Linked DNA regions of Homo sapiens: all the other regions are linked to region 3. Evidence: promoter capture Hi-C in 16 types of primary human blood cells and fetal thymus (Javierre and others, 2016). All regions are on one chromosome and are shown on one strand. Each heading gives the region's core, a stretch centred on a gene start or on the middle of the fragment in contact. The rest is flanking DNA. Distances are from core to core; before and after follow the strand shown.

What was found. The method cuts DNA at HindIII sites, captures the fragments that hold promoters and counts their contacts. A CHiCAGO score of 5 or more calls a contact.
Region 1: a fragment that was not itself captured here is called in contact with the fragment with the promoter of DND1 in region 3 in 1 of 17 cell types (monocytes); the score reaches 6.0 in monocytes.
Region 2: a fragment that was not itself captured here is called in contact with the fragment with the promoter of DND1 in region 3 in 2 of 17 cell types (naive CD8 T cells and monocytes); the score reaches 6.1 in naive CD8 T cells.

What each region holds. Positions count from the first base shown.
Region 1 is chr5:140,509,569-140,514,126 of GRCh38, reverse strand. It overlaps ANKHD1-EIF4EBP3 (ANKHD1-EIF4EBP3 readthrough), which reads right to left. Exons shown (of 36, transcript NM_020690.6): 21 at 4,315-4,490; 22 at 3,946-4,108; 23 at 1,204-1,299; 24 at 648-764. It overlaps ANKHD1 (ankyrin repeat and KH domain containing 1), which reads right to left. Exons shown (of 34, transcript NM_017747.3): 21 at 4,315-4,490; 22 at 3,946-4,108; 23 at 1,204-1,299; 24 at 648-764. Among named protein-coding and RNA genes, the nearest start is that of EIF4EBP3, 36 kb to the left of the region's middle. The HindIII fragment of the contact is 669 bases long and covers 2,202-2,870 here.
Region 2 is chr5:140,471,882-140,476,594 of GRCh38, reverse strand. The region is part of intron 10 of ANKHD1-EIF4EBP3 (ANKHD1-EIF4EBP3 readthrough); the gene reads right to left. The region is part of intron 10 of ANKHD1 (ankyrin repeat and KH domain containing 1); the gene reads right to left. Among named protein-coding and RNA genes, the nearest start is that of ANKHD1-EIF4EBP3, 72 kb to the right of the region's middle. The HindIII fragment of the contact is 5,450 bases long and covers 1-4,713 here.
Region 3 is chr5:140,672,268-140,676,491 of GRCh38, reverse strand. DND1 (DND microRNA-mediated repression inhibitor 1) reads left to right here and starts at 2,916. Exons shown (of 4, transcript NM_194249.3): 1 at 2,916-2,973; 2 at 3,104-3,221; 3 at 3,586-4,047. The coding sequence starts at 2,950. It overlaps WDR55 (WD repeat domain 55), which reads right to left. Exons shown (of 7, transcript NM_017706.5): 7 at 4,147-4,224. It overlaps HARS1 (histidyl-tRNA synthetase 1), which reads left to right. Exons shown (of 13, transcript NM_002109.6): 11 at 1,359-1,475; 12 at 1,667-1,813; 13 at 2,164-2,587. The coding sequence ends at 2,235. RefSeq lists enhancers at 2,451-3,246, 3,247-4,042. The HindIII fragment of the contact is 8,462 bases long and covers 2,891-4,224 here.

The sequences.
Region 1 (4,558 bases), core at 1,287-3,786, 160 kb after region 3:
TGGAGCCTCGAACTCCTGGACTCAAGTGATCCTTCCACTTCAGCCTCCTGAATAGCTAGGATTGCAGGCATGTACCACCATGCCCAACTGTTTTTTAAACTTTTTTTTGTAGAGATGGGGTCTCACTCTGTCACCCAGGCTAGAGTGCAGTGGCACAATCACAGCTCACTGCAACCTCTGCCTCCTGGGCTCAGGCCATCCTCTCTATGTTGACCAAACTGATCTCAAACTCCTAGGCTCAGCCTCCCAAAGTGCTGGGATTACAGGTGTGAGCCACCACGCCCACCCTCAATAATTTCTTTCTTTTTTTTTTTTTTTTTGAGACAGTCTCGCTCTGTCAGCCAGGCTGGAGTGCAGTGGCACGATCTCGACTCACTGCAACCTCTGCCTCCCGGGCTCAAGCAATTCTCCTGCCTCAGCCTCCCGAGTAGCTGGGATTACAGGGGTGTGCCACCACACCTGGCTAATTTTTGTATTTTTAGTAGAGACAGGGTTTCACCTTGTTAGCAAGGCTGGTCTTGAACTCCTGACCTCAGGTAATCCACCCGCCTTGGCCTTCTGAAGTGCTGGGATCATAGGCGTGAGCCACCGTGCCCGGCCCCCACCCTCAATAATTTCTAAAAAGGAAAATTATTTTTCCCACTCACCTTTTCCAGATCAAGTTCCTTTAAAAGAATACTCGCATTCTTATTTGCTTCTGCAGCTTGCTGGTCTTTAGCCTTCACAATGGTTTCGACACATTGATGACATTTTTTCAACAGTTCCTACAGCAGGAAATAGAATTATGTAAATATATAATGAAAGAGGCCAAATAAAACTTAAGCTGATGAGCACATTAAAGTCCAGAGGTTAAAGTTCAAACTGAAAAGTCACTAAACCAAATTAAGTTATCCTTTGAGTCCAATCTTTCACAAAAATAAGACACCATTTCCCTAAAAACCTGCATGTCCTTAGGAAGCCTTCTCATTAGGCTAATGGTTTAGTACCTTAGTGTAGTCACTGTGACTATGGTCCACAGTAGAAATCTCAAAATAGTTTATCAAAAGTATTATACCCCTCTATTTTGCAAATGGAGAAACAAACGCATAAAGAGATCAGGTGACCAACCTTTCAGAATATAAAAAGAACAAGTTCCTAACTGCACACTTTGGCATATCATTCCACAAAGAACAAAAATGTGCTTCAGTAGCATATTAAACTTACCTTATCTGTAATTGTTGCTATGTATCTCATGCATTCTATATCAGAAGGGAACTGATTTACTTCCTTTACCAAATATTGAACAACTTTTACATGACCCTATAAGAAGTACAACAATCTTAGACAAGGTAGCATGAAAAGAAAAATTATTATTCTTAAGAATAAAAGAAAGTAAAACAACAGAATTACAAAGGAATCCCTTGATTTTGCATATATGCCTACCAATTTAAGAATAAAAAGGCAAATACTTCCAAATAGAATATTAAGCTTAAAATTAAAATTATAAAAATAAGATCAGCATTCAGCTTATAAAAAGAAAGGCATAAAAGACAAGAATGTGTGCTCAGGAATGGATGGTGGACTAGACAACATTTCTCCTGAATTTAATCCCACTGAAATTAGAAAAAGCTTTTGTAGAAAAACAGTATCTCCTAGAATAAATCTATTAAACAAACATTGGTGATGTAAAATGAACCTCAGTGTAAAAGGGAAATGAGTCCTAAAATAAGTAATTTTTTTTTAAATTTCAAAGTCTTACTTTGCCTCTACTTCACTAACTAAACAAGGTGGACTATCACAACTTTCTGAGCCTTAGGACTTGAATCTAAATAAAACACTTTCTAAATGCCATTATCAAGGGTTGAAAGATCTGTAATCAATTCTAAGCATATCTTTTTTTTTTTTTTTTTGAGATGGGAGTCTCGCTGTTGTTGCCCCGGCTGGAGTGCCACGGCACGCTCTTGTCTCACTGCAACCTCCGCCTCCCGGGTTCTAGCAACTCTCCTGCCTCAGCCTCCGGAGTAGCTGAGATTACAGGTGCCTACCATCACGCCTGGCTAATTTTTGTATTTTTAGTAGAGACGGGGATTTACCATGTTGGCCAGGCTGGTCTTGAACTCCTGACCTCAGGTGATCCACCTGACTCGGCCTCCCAAAGTGCTGGGATTATGGGCGTGAGCCACCGCACCCGGCCAGCATATCTATTTTAATGTAACCAAGCTTGCATAGTTTCCCTTCCTACCAAGGTTCTAAAACATCCTTAAGAATTAGTGTGATGGAGATACAAATCAGAGAAATGCTTGCCTCTGGGGCAGGGAAGTGACTAAAAGTGGGCAAGAGGGAACCTTCTAGGGTTACAGAAATAATTTATATGTTTATGGGGTATGGGTTACATGTATGTATACGTTTATCAAAACTAAACCATGTACCTTAAGATTCATGCATTTCACTATATGTAAATTGCACTGTGCTAAACAACTGGGTATATAAACAGTGCTGAAAAAGATGGTCATGACTCTTGTCCTCATGGACCTACCAGTCTAGTTGGCGAGACAGGCATTAAAATGGTAAGTACATGTTTGAAGATATAATTACAAATTGGGGTAAGGAAAATCAAAACTCAACTATAAAAGAGAAACAGAGGGACCTTTTTCAGATTTGGTGTTAGAGAAATACTCTTTGAGAACTGACATGTAAAATTGGAGCTAACAGATGAGTAGAGAGGTGAGCTAGGTGAACAGCAAAGGAAATCATTTCAGGAAAAGAAAATCAGTGAGCAAAGGCCCTGAGGCAGTTGAAAATTTAGTGCATTCTAGGCCAGTAACTAGAAAACAGTGAGCAAAAGGGGATAGTAGCATAAATGATTTGTATGGGGAGGTTGACATGAAGCTTATTATGCAGGTCTTTACATGCCCTACTAAGTAGTTTATAGTTTGGGAAGCTATACCAATGGGAAGGCTTTTAAAAATACAGCAGATAAGTGAACTTTAATATATATGAGAGGCCGGGCATGAACTTTAATATATATGAGAGGCATGGCTCACGCCCATATCTCAGCACTTTGGCAGGCAGAGGTGGGAGAATCGCTGAGCCCAGGAGTTTGAGACCAGCCTGGGCAACATAGCAAGACCTCGTCTCTACAAAAAGTAAAAATAAAAAAAATCTGAGCATGGTAGTGACACCTGTGGTCCCAGCTACTCAGGAGGCTGAGGCGGGAGGATCAATTGAGCCTGGGAGGTTGAGGCTATAGTGAGCTATGATCATGCCACTGCACTCCAGCCTGGTTGACAGACTGAGACCGTTTCATACTCACACACACACACACACACGCACACAGAAGATACAGTAAGTTTTTATGAAAGTCTACTCCTTTTTGTTCCTCTTTAGGCACAAAAAAATCCATCTGCATATAATAGTTTTTCTTAAATCTTCTGTTTCATGAACAATGTATCACAAATAGTCAAGACACCAAGTGATTTAACAACCAAGTTGCTTATAGTGAACTACCACATAGATCTTAGATTTGGCCACAAAAGAATGGAAAGATAAGGTCGGGAGCCTGTAATCCTAGCACTTTGGGAGGCTGAGGCAGGCAGATCACAAAGTCAGGAGTTTGAGACCAGCCTGACCAACGTGGTGACACCCCATCTCTACTAAAAATACAAAAATTAGCCGGGTGTGGTGACGCATGCCTGTAATCCCAGCTACTCAGGAGGCTGAGGCAGGAGAATCACTTGAACCTGGGAGGCAGAGGTTGCAGTGAGCCGCGATCATGCCACTGCATTCTAGCCTATGTGACAGAGTAAGACTCCGTCTCAAAAAAAAAAAAAAAAAAAAAGAATGGAAAGATAGCAGTGATTTTTCTATGGAAATATACTCAATTCTCCAAGATAAACTTATCTTTCTCACATGGTTTTAACTTAGAATTGGCTTAAAATTGACCTTTCTTCCCCCATATCAAATTACCTTGCGAAATGCTGACATAAGAGGTGTGATTTTCCGGTTATCTGCTGCATCCACATCAGCACCTGCTTGCACTAGCAACTGCACAACATCAAAATGACCTCCATTGGATGCCAGCCAAAGTGGCGTATTTCCCTTTTTGTTACGAACATCAATGTGGGCTCCCCTGTAAACAAGGCATATTAATAGTTTGTTTCCTGTAAGAAGAGGCTGGCTTTTTCTAGTTTTCTCTATCTTCTTCTTTTACAAAATAACTTGCAAATAATCTTTTCTTAACAATATCAATAAAGTAAAACAATGTTATTAACTTTAAAAGCTCTGAAAAGTGAAAATGACCATGAGAAGTTCTACATATAATAGAAAAGTACTCACCTATGAATCAGGAGTTCACAAAATTTGTAGTGACCTTTGTCTGCTGCTATTGTTAAAGCAGTATCTCTTGAGGAAGGCACAGGGGGAGCATTAACATCTGCTCCTTTATCAAGAAGAACTCTTCCAACCTCTGCATACCCTCCAGAAGCTGCTTCCATCAAGGGGGTAAGACCCGTCTGTTTAAACCAATAAATTATGCAACTAAGTTACATTTCTTTTTTTAACTATTCCGTAGACCAAAACT
Region 2 (4,713 bases), core at 964-3,463, 200 kb after region 3:
AAGTACAGAATTCTGTATTGTTATTTTATCTTGGTATTTTGAGGATATTACTTCCCATCATCTTCTGTAATTTATTATTGCTGATGAGAAGGTCAAAACTTTGATGGTTGTTTTTTTGTAGGTAATGCGTTTTTTTCCTCTGATAGCTTTTAAGACATTTTTCATTATCCTTAAAGTTCCACAGTTTCATCTGTTCTGCTTAGTGATGGATATGATTCTTCAGTCAAGGATTCATGTCTAGTCACAATGCTAGAAAATTCTCCACCATTCTCTTCAAACATTTCCTCTCCCCTCCATTTCTATCCTCTCCTTCAGGAACTTCTAGTAGATAATATGGTGGAGCTTCTAATCTATTCTCTTTCTCTCAATTTCTTTTTCATATTTTCTATCTCTTTACTATATTTCATTATATATTTTATTGTATTATTTCTTGTTTTATCACTCATTCACTAATGCATTCAACTGTGTCTAATATGCTGTCTTACCCTATATATTGAGGTTACCCCCCAAAACTTTTAGTTTTATTTTATATCCACCTGTTCTTAATACGTAATTATCAGCTTTTGCTTTATTATCTCACATTGTTTTATGGCTACTGGTCATAGTTTAAAATAAACATGTTCATAATTCTCAAGATTAAAGTTTATTTCAATTTCCTTGAGTGTATTATATTTTGCTTTTTGTTTGTTTACATTTTGACTATCTTTCTTGATAAAGATTCGCTCTCCAGCTTTATAATTTTTTTACTGAGGAAACTCATTTTGATGGGAGGTGTTTTGTTTTAGTTTCTTTTCCATCCACAGATGTACTCCTCATCAGATGTTTTGGAAGTTCCCTCAGTCTGGCTCTTGGAGTCCATTTCAGAAGTAGATATTTTGCTGGACACCTAAGGTTCTTGTCTCATAGAGATATTTCACTTCTGTTCCCTAAATCAAGAAGGTTGTCCTCCAAGTTTTTAGTTACACAGTTGTCTCTGTTTCTTCCATTAACGACAATTTGCTAATTTTTCCCCCCTTTTTTTTAGTTTTTTTGGGTTTGTTTTGTTTTGTTTTTTACATACAACCTGGATATGACAATTTGCTAATTTCTAACCATAACCCTAGATAGTTGATCAAATATTTTTTTATCCATTTTGGTTCACAGGTAGGGCAATAAGATGCCGGTTCCTTGCTTTATTCAAGTAGACTAGATCTACTGATGTACTACATGTGAAATGCATTCATTCCCTATTCCTCTGCACATGCTGAAATCTCAGCCCCCATTGTGTATTTTTTTAGCCCTTAATTCTCCTTGGGACTACAGCTTAAACTGTGGATCCATGCTGCACTTCTAGTCCACGGAGATCTTTAATCCTGTTGTTTTGGGGCACGACTACATATTTTTAGATTCATTTTTCTATATACTAATAATGACTTTACCTTCTTGACTGAAGTCATTTGTACTTATATTTAAACAACCTGGAGAGAGCTGAAAAGAACTCATTCAATACACAATAACATAGAAAGAGAGAACTTGGCTTTAAAAGAAATGTATTAGGAGTTTTGTGTATTCCATAGGTAGTTTTAGATTTTTAAGAAATTGACAGAAGTTTCCTAGTTTTAAGTAGTAAAGTTAAAAATATGTATATACGCTATTCCTTAATAAAAAAGTTAAAAAGTGGAAGGTAAGGTCACATTTAAAGTTTATTAAGGTAAGGTAATTACTAACAGTTGAAATACATTGATAAGTAGATTACTAGAGCTCATAAGCTCCCTAAAAATATATCTATAAAAAATACACTACAAGTCTGGGCAAGATAGCAAGACTTTGTCTCTGAAAAAAAATTTAAAAATTAGCCAGGCATTGTGGTGCATACCTGTAGTCCTAGCTACTCAGGAGGCTGAGGAAAGGGGATGCCATGAGCCCAGGAGTTCAAAGCTGCAGTGAGCTATAATCACGCTTTTGTACTCTAGCCTGAGCGACAAAGTGAGACCATCTCCAAAAAAAAAAAAAAAAAGAAGAAAAAAAAAAGGTTCTGATGAATGAGCACTGTAAGAAAAAATGTGGAATTTTTTCTATTTGGCTTTAGATAACAAAATTTTATTTTAAATTAAGTTTATTTTATTTAAAATAAGTTAATTTCCCTTAAAAAATCACAGCCACAGGGCACCCAAGACATATATTTAAGGACTGTAACTATACCACAGAGGCAATGTCTTTTGGAGTTGGAGGGAGGACATTCTCTAAGGAGAAAGACCAAAATCACAGAGAAAAGGAGGGAGACTGTTTGATACTGTACGTACTAGAGGATTCCAATACTCTTCCATGGGGAGTATGTTCCTTCAACCCACCACTGTATATTAATCATTACCTTAGTGATCTACTATTACTGATTGGATTCATACCCCTCAGGAGAACTGATATGGATAAAAGGTTAAGAGGCACTGGTCCTAAGGCTTGTGTTTAGCACATTTTCTAAAAATCACAAGTAACAGAGAGAAAAACCAAGTTTATTCAATTTGGATGGAGGAAAAATGATCGATTATAAAGCAAAGATGGAAAAAGAAAAGAACTCAGCAATGATGCAGAATAATCTGTATGGCCTCTACCAATGTCTCAAAGTGTAAAATATGGAGAACTTGTCATCAGAATCTCCTGAGATATTAGTTCAAATGCAGACCCCCTATTTCAGATCTATGGAATCTGAACCTGTAAACGTGGGGCTGCAAAACTCATTTTTAAAAAAATCCTGTTTTGAGACTTGCAGCTAGAGAGAAAGATTTACAATTACATTTCATCTAACAAATCCAGGGAAAAACAATTACTTTGATCTGAAATAACACTCAGCTTTACATTCTTGATAGGAGCCTATAATATTATACAAACTGAGTAGAAGCTCACATGTTCACATCACATTTTGTAAAATAAACTTACTTACTTCAAAGTAGAATAAATATATCCAGCCTGGACAGTACAGTGAGACCTCATCTCTATAAAAATGAAAAAAATTAGTTGGGCATGGTGGCACATGCCTCTAGTCCCAGCTACTGGGGAGGCTGAGGCAGGAAGATCACTTGAGCCTGGGATGGGAAGGCTGCAGTGAGCCAAGAGCACACCACTGCATTCCAGCCTGAGCAACAGAGTGAGACCCTGTCTCAAAAAAAAAAAATTTAAAAAATTTTTAAAAATCTCAACAGAATAAATAAAACAGCTTCTCATTTAACAAGCCAATGATGAAGACACTTAATAAGCATCATGATTAAGAGGGGTTTAGAATTAAGAAACTTAGGCCAGGCACGGTGACTCACGCCTGTAATCCCAGCACTTTAGGAGGCCGAGGCGGGTAGATCACAAGGTCAGGAGTTCGAGACCAGCCCAGCCAACATGGTGAAACCCCGTCTCTACTAAAGATGCAAAAAATTAGGTAGGCACGGTGGCACGCGCCTGTAATCCCAGTTACTTGGGAGGCTGGGGCAGGATAATCGCTTGAACCCAGGAGGCAGAGGCTGCAGGGAGCCAAGATTGCAGCACCACTGCACTCCAGCCTGGGCAACAGGGCGAGACTCTGTCTCAAAAAAAAAAAAAAAAAGAAACTTAGATGGCCTAAGTTATTTGTGATCTAATCACAATTCATTAATAATTTTAAAATTAAAAACTGCTCCTGATTTTAAATAAATCTCTTTGGATTATAATGGATATTAAATTTATTTGACTTTTAAAACCACTGGGCACAAATTCACACATTTTTTCAAAAGAAATATTTCCTATGAAAAAATATTCACCTTCTTAAAAACCAATTTCAGAATAGTAGGAGACAATTTTAAGAAGAAAATTTTAAACTTCTAGTTTATAGAAATTAGGGCATAAACTATATAGTAAACGTTTTGCTAAACTAATTTTTTTGTTTATTTGAGTATTATTTTTAAAACAATCCAATATATTAATATCACTCTGAGTTTCAGATTTTTGATGAACAAAGTTGAATGCAAAGGACTTTATTACTGAGACTTTCTCTCTGCGGTATACTAACTCTCCCAATAAAGGAGAATGTAAAAGAACTACCTGAATAAGAAAATCTATTTTCACCTAAGAGATTTTTTTAGGAATATCACTGAGAAAGAAGACTAAGGAAACAAACTACCAGCAATACAAATCTCTTTTTATTGGGACTTCATAATCTTTTTCAATTGAAGAGGATTTCCTTTGTCACCCAGCAGGGTCCTGGAACTTCTTGGCTGGAATTCAGATATCCAGAGTTCTGGTTACCTACAACATCTATTCTTTACGTAGTAGCTTACAAGCATCAAAGGCCACCCTCACCTGATGCTTGGCCGGATCTATGCCCTCCAAAATAGTCTTCATGTCCTCCTGCTTGTCCTGCGAAAGGAAAAAGAAGAACTCACGGATCTTATTCCAAAAACGAAAATCACATTTGGCCATGAAGACCTTGTGACCGATACTTCAGATGGTGGGCTTTGTTAACTCAGGATCTTCAACTAAAAAGATTCTCATCTGTAGAGACTGTAATGTCATGAGCAGAGTATAAATTTTTTTAAGGGGGTGATATTATGGTTTTTTACCAATAAAACTTCAATATAAATCTTAATATATGTAGAAATATTTCTGCAGAATTATTTAAATTCATGCCTTTGTCTCAAAAAACAAAGCCACAAAAACAGAGCAACATTTAAAAATATCTAACCAAAGAAAATAATGAAATCAAGAGATTTGGGC
Region 3 (4,224 bases), core at 1,667-4,166:
AAGTTTTATGGATCTTTAATCCATAATCTTTCTGCACTCAATCCTCTGCTCTGGGTCTCTACTTCCTTCAGGGCTGTCACAAACCTGGGCTGGTGTATCCAAGACTTAGATCTTCCTCATGATACGGAATACTTAACATTTTACTGCCTTGTGCCAGGCACTGTGCTTGGTGCTTTTCATGCATTATCAAAATATAATTGTTACTACAGCCCTGTGAGAGTAGCTAATTTTATTAATTGCATTTTCCAGATGAGAACACTGAAGCATTATAGATCAAATAATTTGCTTAAGGCCATGAAACTTGTAAGTGGTAGGGTCAGAATTTGAATCCAGGCAGTCTGACTCCAAAGTCTTGCCACTAACCACACTGCAATACTGTCTCTAAATGGGAAGCATGTGTCTGAGGCCCTGGGATCCCTCAGATGGCTACCGTGACTCTCTAGCACCTAGAGTAACACCAAGGAAGCCTCTTGTAGCCTCAAGCCCTCCTTTGTTGCTGCTGGTCTTAAGTGGCTGGTTGCATTTCATCTTCTGGGAAATGCTCTGGCAACCTCCCCACAGTCCTATGCCTTTTCTCTAGGGTGGAAACCACCCATTTCCCAGTTGAGATCATTTTTCCAGTAGGCATCTTACATTCTAAGAACTATGAAAATAGTTTTCCTGAAAAAGACAAGGGAAGCAGCAGCAGCATTCTCCTTTCCCCACACCCATATACACGCCTGTGCCCTGTAACTGAAGTGTGAGAGGCACAGTGTCATAAATGGGTAGATAGTAAGTGGGGACTAAAACTGTCAAGGGTGATCTAATTGGGGTGGGCTCATAGTAGTACTTCTGTGTGAATGCTTTGGTGGACCCTTAAGGTACTACATGGACCAGCCTGGGCAACATGATGAGACCCTGTCTCTACAGATTAAAAAAAAAAATTTTTTTTTTTTTTTAAATTAGCTGAGTATGGTGGTGTGTGCCTGTAGTCAGGAGGCTGAGGTGGGAGGATCACTTGAGCTTGGGAGGTCGAAGCTGCAGTGATCACACCACGGCACTTCAGCCTGGATGACAGAGACCCTGTCTCAAAAAAAAAAAAAAGGTACTACATGGAGATAAGCTTGAAGTTACTGTAAAAAAGCTACCTTTACTCTTGCCCTAAGTTATTTATTCTGATACGTCCTATGTACAAGTCAGTCAGTTCAGTCCTCATATCTACTAAAAGCTACCTTTATGCCCAAGGTGCTAGATGAGAAGACAGGGCCCCTGCCCTGGTAGAGCTGAGTTGGGCCTGGTCTCAAAATCCCGACTAGAGCCTGCTTTGTTTGCTCCTTGAAGGTGTTAGCCCAGCTCTCTTTTATCTGCCCCTTCCCCAGGCTTTGGAGGAGAAGATACGGACCACGGAGACACAGGTGCTTGTGGCATCTGCACAGAAGAAGCTGCTAGAGGAAAGACTAAAGCTTGTCTCAGAACTGTGGGATGCTGGGATCAAGGTATGGGAGGCAAGCCCCAGGGTGGCAGCAAACTTAGGTGTGCTGGACACAAACTGAATAAAAGCTCACCCATAATGGATCCTGCCATTACTTCTCAAAAGTAGAGCTAAGAACAGGGTGCCAGCTTGGACACCCTCTGTCCCTGAGGACAGCAGAAGCCAGCCTTCATCTTCTGCTCTTGTCCCCTGCAGGCTGAGCTGCTGTACAAGAAGAACCCAAAGCTACTGAACCAGTTACAGTACTGTGAGGAGGCAGGCATCCCACTGGTGGCTATCATCGGCGAGCAGGAACTCAAGGATGGGGTCATCAAGCTCCGTTCAGTGACGAGCAGGGAAGAGGTGAGGGAGGTGGGCAGGAAGGCTAAGGGACAGAGAATGTATGCCATTTTGGCAGGCCCATGCCCATTCAAGACCTGAGAAAAAGCCTGGCATTGATATTAGTACAACTCATAAAAGCCTTGAGGGCTTAACCTGTTACTGTGGTCTTAGTAGGGTGAGATCTCCATCCCTGCATATACCTTATGGTTTGTTGGCTCCCCCAAGAGGCACACTCTAGCCTGAGGTGTTTAATTAGGTTCCTGCTCCCAGCTGAGACAAGCCTGATGCCTAGAGGGCTAGAGGAAACTAGGCACTCGGGGAGCAGTGGAATGGAAGATGCTTATACCACCTTCTTCTCCCATCCTGGCCAGGTGGATGTCCGAAGAGAAGACCTTGTGGAGGAAATCAAAAGGAGAACAGGCCAGCCCCTCTGCATCTGCTGAACTGAACAAACTATCAGAGGAAAGGAAGTGGGACTGGCACTATTTGAGGTTAAGACAAACTGCATATGTACTTCAATTGCTTTGCACTTTTCCGTTTCAGCGGAAGACCTGAAGAGTGGTCAGAACAGAGCCTTTGATTTTTATTATGGTTATTTTATTGATTATTACTGGCAAAAACGGCCAGGTACAACACCTTTTTCATACAAGGCCCAGGAGGCTTAGTCCAGTCTGTGCTCCTGGGCTACAAGGACCCAGCCTGAGATGGTCCCATCTGCAGGGCCCCGCACCAGTTGGAGCAGATGCCTCCCCACCACCAATTGCCAAAGGTCCAATAAAATGCCTCAACCACGGAGTCTGCGTGTGTCAGTGATGCCTAGCCCCGCCTTCCCCAGCAGACCAATGTAGGGATGGAAAAGGGAGAAAAACAGTAAACTTGTGACCCTGAGGTTCTTGTCTCCAGCGTCCACCCTGCGGCTTGGGAGCTCCTCCTCGGGAGGCAGCCCCCGTACATACGCACCCGCGACTTTGCAGCTTTCACCTGAAGGTCTGAGCGAAGCCCGGGCGGCGCACGTGCAGTGGATACCTCCACCCCCCTGGGAGGCGGGGTCGCGCTCAGAGCCAATGAGAGCTTGCGGGGTGGAGGGGTAGGGAAGCTTCCAGAGGCCGGTGGGGAGGAAGTTATAAAGAGGGTACGAGGGGGCCAGCTGGAGAGCCATGCAGTCCAAGCGGGATTGTGAGGTAAGCGGCTGGCGACTTGGGGGCCGGCGAGCCCCGCCGGAGCGGGGGTCGGCTTTAGGGACCCCAGTACCACAGGAGAGGTGGGGGCGCGCTTGGCGATCCGCCATTCCAACCTTCCTTTCCCTCTCAGCTGTGGTGTGAGAGGGTGAATCCAGAGAACAAGGCGGCGCTGGAGGCGTGGGTCAGGGAGACAGGCATCCGCCTGGTGCAGGTGAACGGGCAGAGGAAGTATGGCGGGCCACCCCCAGGTACGGTAGTCCCAGCCCCTCCGCCTGTCCGGCTACACCAGCCCCCTTTGGGGGAGGGGCTGCTCCGAGCCTTCACTGTCAGAAACTGCGAACTACCCGGATTTATACCCCCCAGCAAAGGAGGAACTGTGGCTCCACGTCCACCCGCCCCGTCGAGGGAGGGGGCCAATCTCAAGGTGTACCTACTCTGTGCCAGCCCCCTTGTTAGCGCAGTCACCTAATTATGCCAACCACCCAGGGTACGGGTGTAAACCCATTTCACAGACCTTTGTTCACATCGCCTCCCACCCCCGCGCGCTGGGTCCGTGGGCTCAGAATTCGAAAGCGTCGCCTGACGGTGGCCTTGCATACCCTCTTCCCACAGGCTGGGTGGGCAGCCCGCCGCCAGCTGGGTCAGAGGTGTTCATCGGGCGGCTGCCTCAGGACGTGTACGAGCACCAGCTTATCCCGCTGTTCCAGCGCGTGGGCCGCCTCTACGAGTTCCGCCTGATGATGACCTTCAGCGGCCTGAACCGCGGCTTCGCCTATGCCCGCTACAGCTCGAGGCGCGGCGCGCAGGCCGCCATCGCCACGCTGCACAACCATCCGCTGCGGCCGTCCTGCCCGCTGCTCGTGTGCCGCAGCACCGAGAAGTGTGAGCTGAGCGTTGACGGCCTGCCGCCGAATCTGACCCGCAGCGCGCTGCTGCTCGCGCTGCAGCCGCTGGGTCCCGGCTTGCAGGAGGCGCGGCTGCTGCCCAGCCCCGGACCGGCGCCCGGGCAGATCGCTCTGCTCAAATTCAGCTCGCACCGGGCCGCTGCCATGGCCAAAAAGGCCCTGGTGGAAGGTAGGCTGGGGCGGGGGTGCTGGTTGGGGCCAAACGCGTTCTGCCCGGCACTTTATACTGAGCATAGCTGTTAAAGTTACAAGATCTTAGAGTCAAACATGCCAGAATTTGCAACCTTTTACTATTTGATCTCAGATTTTTAAAACTTCCAATGGTGCTACCACCACCGCTTACCTA